Linked DNA regions of Homo sapiens: region 1 is linked to region 2. The links are contacts of gene promoters, found by promoter capture Hi-C in human tissues and cell types (Jung and others, 2019). All regions are on one chromosome and are shown on one strand. Each heading gives the region's core, a stretch centred on a gene start or on the middle of the fragment in contact. The rest is flanking DNA. Distances are from core to core; before and after follow the strand shown. Region 1 overlaps NOTCH3 (notch receptor 3). Region 2 holds the start of EPHX3 (epoxide hydrolase 3).

Region 1 (2,700 bases), core at 201-2,700, 43 kb after region 2:
GTGCACACCTGTAATCCAAGTCTCTCAGGAGGCTAAGGCACGAGAGTAGCTTGAACCCAGGAGGTGGAGATTGCAGTGAGCCAAGATTGCACCACTGCACTCTAGCCTGGGTGACAGAGTGAGACTCCTTCTCAAATTTAAAAAATAAAAAAAAGATTATGCTAGGCCGGGCACAGTGGCTCATGCCTGTAATCCCAGCACTTTGGGAGGCCAAGATGGGAGGATCGCTTGGGCCCAGGACTTTGAGACCAGCCTGGACAACATAGTGAGTTTTTGTCATCTCTACAAAAACTTGGTAGGCTGGGTGTGGTGGCTCACGCCTGTAACCCCAACACATTGGGAGGCCCAGGCGGGTAGATTGCTTGAGCTCAGCAGTTTGAGACCAGCCTGGGCAACATGGCAAAACCCTATCTCTACCAAAAATACAAAAAATTAGCTGGGCATGGTAGCGCATGCCTGTAGTCCCAGCTACTCTGGATGCTAAGGTTGAAGGATGGCTTGAGCCCAGAAGGTGGAGGTTGCAGTGAGCTGAGACTGAGCCACTGCGTTCCAGCCTGGGAGACAGTGTAAGACCGTGTATAACAAAAAAGAGAGAGAAAAAAAGATGATGCTGGAGGCAGCTTTAGTGGGGAAGTGTAAGCCTGGGAGAGGCTTGGGAGGAGGCTGACATTGCACTGATGCATGGCTCAGGGCAGAAGCCATTGGAATGGGGAACTCCTGGGAGTTACCTTTGGAAGTGGCAAAGATCAGAGAACATGTTTAGGAGGGGAACGTGGATATAGAAAGAGGGCATACATGGCAGAGGGTATTACAGAAGCAAAGGCTGGAGTGTAGGACCCTTTTGTAATCAGAAGAGTCAAAAGGTTTTAAAACAATATGTGGATGTTTGCAATTTATTTTATTTTATTTTTGAGACAGAGTCTCACTTTGTCACCCAGGCTGGAGTACAGTGGCATGATCTCAGCTCACTGCAGCCTCGACTTCCTGGGCTCAAGTGATCCTCCCACCTCAGTCCCCCAAGTAGCTGGGATTACAGGCGTGCGCCACCATGCCCGGCTAAGCTTTGTATTTTTTGTAGAGACGGGTCTCACTATATTGCCCAGGCTGGTCTTGAACTCTTGAACTCAAGCGATGCACTCACCTTGGCCTCCCAAAGTGCTAGGATTATAGACGTGAGCCACTGTGCCCGGTCTGCAATTTATTTTTAAATGGTTTAGAAAAGAAGATTGGTAGATTAAGCTAACAATAGTTGAATCTAGGTGGTGGGTATATGAATGGTCAACTTTTCTGTATGTTTGATAGTTCTCATAATAAATGGATTAAAAAAGCAGCTACTAAATACTGTTTAGGTTTAATAAAAACAACAGGCCGGGCGCGGTGGCTCACGCCTGTAATCCCAGCACTTTGGGAGGCTGAGGCAGGCAGATCACCTGAGGTCAGGAGTTTGAGACCAACCTGGCTAACTTGGTGAAACCCCGTTTCTACTAAAAATACAAAAAATTAGCCGGGCGTGGTGGCACATGCCTGTAATCCCAGCTACTCGGGAGGCTGAGCAGGAGAATCGCTTGAACCTGGGAGGTGGAGGTTACAGTGAGCCAAGATCGCGCTATTGTACTCCAGCTTGGGCAACAAGAGCGAAACTTCGTCTCAAAAAACAAAACAAAACAACAACAACGACAAAACAATACTCAAGGGGTGTGGGCCTTTTGGGCAGAGCAGGAAGATCTGCCTATGACTTCTGCTTACCACTTCCCAGGCCTCCTGTGTCACCTGGATGACGCCTGTGTCAGCAACCCCTGCCACGAGGATGCTATCTGTGACACAAATCCGGTGAACGGCCGGGCCATTTGCACCTGTCCTCCCGGCTTCACGGGTGGGGCATGTGACCAGGATGTGGACGAGTGCTCTATCGGTGAGGGGAGCTCCATCGTCTGTGAATGGGCTGGGAAAGAGGGGAGAGGAGGGGGTCCCGGCCAGCCACGCCCACACCGATCGCACTCCATCCGGCAGGCGCCAACCCCTGCGAGCACTTGGGCAGGTGCGTGAACACGCAGGGCTCCTTCCTGTGCCAGTGCGGTCGTGGCTACACTGGACCTCGCTGTGAGACCGATGTCAACGAGTGTCTGTCGGGGCCCTGCCGAAACCAGGCCACGTGCCTCGACCGCATAGGCCAGTTCACCTGTATCTGTATGGCAGGTGGGTGGTGGGCGTGGCCTGGGCGGGTCCTGAGGCAGGGGGCGGGGACAGAGAAGCCCGCGGATGGGGAGCTGAGCAGAATGGGGTGTAAGTGGGTTTGGAGTGGGACCCTTAGAGACTGAAGCCTGGAAGGAGGTGGGGTCAGGACCAGAAGGGAATACTGTGTGATTCTGGGGGCTTGGTCAAATGGAGTCAGTAGAACCTCAGGTGGGCTGGGAGTATTCTTGGCCTTAGGACCCACTCGGGAAGGGGTTGGGGATAGAGAGGCAGAGTCGGGGCTGCTGTGAGGTCAAGGTGAAGCCTGCAGACAAGCTTGCAGTAAGCCTGGGCAAAGGCTATGGGGGGCCCTGGGGCTGGGGGCTGGGGACTGGGGAAAGGGCTTAGTCTGAGGACTGGGGAGAGGAGGAGGGGTTTGAAGGCAAGGCCTCTGCGGACACCCATGAGCCTTGGGCCAGTTGGGACCACGGCTGGGTGACAGTCCAGCCTGTGGCTGAAAATTAAGGT
Region 2 (2,700 bases), core at 32-2,531:
CCCATCACACCCGGCCCTGTCCCACTTCCTCTTTCGGCCAGAACCCCAGAACTCCAGTCATTCATAGGCCGGGTCCTCCTCGGGGGAACCAGGCCTGCCCCCTAGGAATCAGGGTATCCACGCCTCCTCGGCCCGCTCTCGGAGCCTGGGCCTCAACACCTGCAGATTGGCTCCCGGGCCAGGACCTGTCGCTTGAACATCAGTGGCCGCCGCCGTCCAATCACAGACGTACAGGGGCGGGCTGGCGGGCCTGTTGGGCCAGCAGGAGGACGGCGCCGGGCCGAGGCCGCTGGACCCGCCGTTGGAACCACAGCTGGGTGAAGTCAGTGCTGCTAGGTCTTTGGAGCCAGACCGAAGGGAGGGTCGCGCGCCCCTGGGTGGGTAGCACCAGGCGGCGGCCGTCGGCCGGGCCTCCCGAAGCCTCCTCCAGCCGCTAATACCGCCCGCGCCTCCCTCCTAGTCCTAGACCTGGCATTGCCTGTCCCTCTTCTTCGTCTTCCAGACCCTCCTGACCCGCCATATTAGGTCCCGGCCCCGCCCTCCGTCTCATTGCCCATTGCCCACCCCACCCCACCGCCCCCTCCCCGGCCTACCGTCAGCTCATTGGCCCAGGCTCCCGCCTTCTTCGCCCAATGTTAGGCCTCACCTCCTCTAGGATCCACCCTCTCCCCGCCCACCCGCATAAGCCAGGCCCACCATTCCAACTCTTTCTCCTTTTTGGCTTGTAGGCCGCACCTACTCTGCATATGCCCCGCCCCTCACTCCAGGTGTCGCCCACTTAACTGAAGATCCAGGATCCCCTCCTTAAGGTTTGTCTGGGCTCGGAATTGCCTTTTTTTTTTTTCTTTTTTGAGACGGAGTTTCCCTGTTGTGACCCAGGCTGGAGTACAGTGGCGCGATCTCAGCTCACTGCAACCTCCACGTCCCGGGTTCAAGCGATTCTCCTGCCTCAGCCTCCCAAGTAGCTGGGACTACAGGCGCCCGCCACCACGCCCAGCTAATTTTTGTATTTTTAGTAGAGACGGGGTTTCACCACGTTGCCCAGGCTGGTCTCGAGCTCTTGATCTCAGGTGATCCGCCCGCCTCGGCCTACCAAAGTGCTGGGATTACAGGCGTGAGCCACCGCACCCGGCCCGGAATTGCCGCCTTTAGACCCTCACCCACCCGCTGCTGAGTCTTCCTGGGCCCCGCCCCGGCCCTAAGCCCCGCACAGGACCTGCTAGGCCCCGCCCATTTATTTCCCCCCTTTCCAACCTCTTCCTCCCCAGCCTCCGCACCCTACCCTTGTTTCCTGTCCCTGTCGCGCCCAGGTGTTTACCTGGCACTCAGGTGAGTGGTGCGCTCTGGCTGTTTTCTGTCGGAGCCGCCCGCCTCTTCCTTCAGCGCGTCCCACAAATCCCGACGGCACGGAGGGGCCCCAGGCCAAGGGCGATGGGCCCCTGAGCCCTGACACCGCTTCGCCGCTGCTGCAGGTGCCCCTGGCCGGCAGCGCCGCCGTGGTCCCGGAGCGCGGCGACATGCCGGAGCTGGTGGTGACCGCGCTGCTGGCGCCGTCGCGCCTGTCGCTGAAGCTGCTGCGCGCCTTCATGTGGAGCCTGGTGTTCTCGGTGGCGCTGGTGGCCGCGGCGGTCTACGGCTGCATAGCGCTCACGCACGTGCTGTGCCGGCCCCGGCGCGGCTGCTGCGGGCGCCGTCGGAGCGCGTCCCCCGCCTGCCTGAGCGACCCCTCGCTGGGTGAGCACGGTTTCCTGAACCTCAAGGTGATCGCACGGGGGCGCTATCGGGGCTGCGGGGTCGCGTGGGGTCGAGACGGTTCAAGCCTCGGGAGAGAGGGTTCCCCAGGCTTCAGGCTGTGCCCTCCCCCTAGAGCTCGGGCCTGCGTCTGCACTATGTCTCGGCTGGACGAGGTAACGGACCCCTCATGCTGTTTCTGCACGGCTTCCCTGAGAACTGGTACGTCTGGGGCCAGGGGCCTGAGGCCCACGGGACTCGGGGGCAGGTGGAGCTTGGGCTCCCAAGAGGCAGGGAGGAGGGCTGTATAGATCGGGACAAGCTGAACATAGATGGGGATAGGGGTACTGAGCCAGCATACCCAGGATCCCTAGGCCCTGAAGGGACAGGACAAAGGGGTATTGAGGTTGATTGAAGTTCCCTGGATTCAGGGTGTAGCTGGCTTCAGCCTCAGCCTCTGCCTCTGCCTGGGATTCCCCATCCTCCTTTTAGGGGAAGTTTAGAGCAGGAAGGAGGGTTTGCCAATGGTTGCTGATGTGCGTAGGGTGCAGGTGCAACCTGAGGGCCCTGACTCAGCCTCCCTCCCTCGCCCGCCTGGCAGGTTCTCCTGGCGTTACCAGCTCCGGGAGTTCCAGAGCCGCTTCCATGTTGTGGCTGTGGACTTGCGAGGCTATGGCCCCTCGGATGCACCTCGGGATGTGGACTGCTACACAATCGACCTGCTGCTGGTGGACATCAAAGATGTCATCCTAGGCCTGGGTGCAGACATACCCCCATCCTAGGCGTGGCCTCCCTCATCCTGCACACACGCATACCCCCGCTTTCTCCTTGCTGGAACCTACTTCCCCCATCCCTGCTTCAGTCCTACTGGGCACCTCACTTATGCGAGCTCCTTGAATTCCCACAGGTTACTCGAAGTGCATCCTTGTGGCCCATGACTGGGGTGCCCTCCTTGCCTGGCATTTCTCC

The links. Contacts are between HindIII fragments. The study calls those that stand out against the background at their distance.
Region 1: a contact is called between a fragment that was not itself captured here and the fragment with the promoter of EPHX3 in region 2, in 5 of the 25 tissues and cell types used here (IMR-90 fibroblasts, dorsolateral prefrontal cortex, heart right ventricle and 2 more).

The regions. Positions count from the first base shown.
Region 1 is chr19:15,188,485-15,191,184 of GRCh38, reverse strand. It overlaps NOTCH3 (notch receptor 3), which reads left to right. Exons shown (of 33, transcript NM_000435.3): 7 at 1,757-1,912; 8 at 2,011-2,196. Among named protein-coding and RNA genes, the nearest start is that of MIR6795, 10 kb to the right of the region's middle. The HindIII fragment of the contact is 6,552 bases long and covers 1-2,700 here.
Region 2 is chr19:15,231,029-15,233,728 of GRCh38, reverse strand. It overlaps EPHX3 (epoxide hydrolase 3), which reads left to right and starts at 1,281. Exons shown (of 7, transcript NM_024794.3): 1 at 1,281-1,760; 2 at 1,868-1,953; 3 at 2,333-2,490; 4 at 2,639-2,700. The coding sequence starts at 1,518. RefSeq lists a silencer at 532-691 and an enhancer at 1,030-1,531. The HindIII fragment of the contact is 16,546 bases long and covers 1-2,700 here.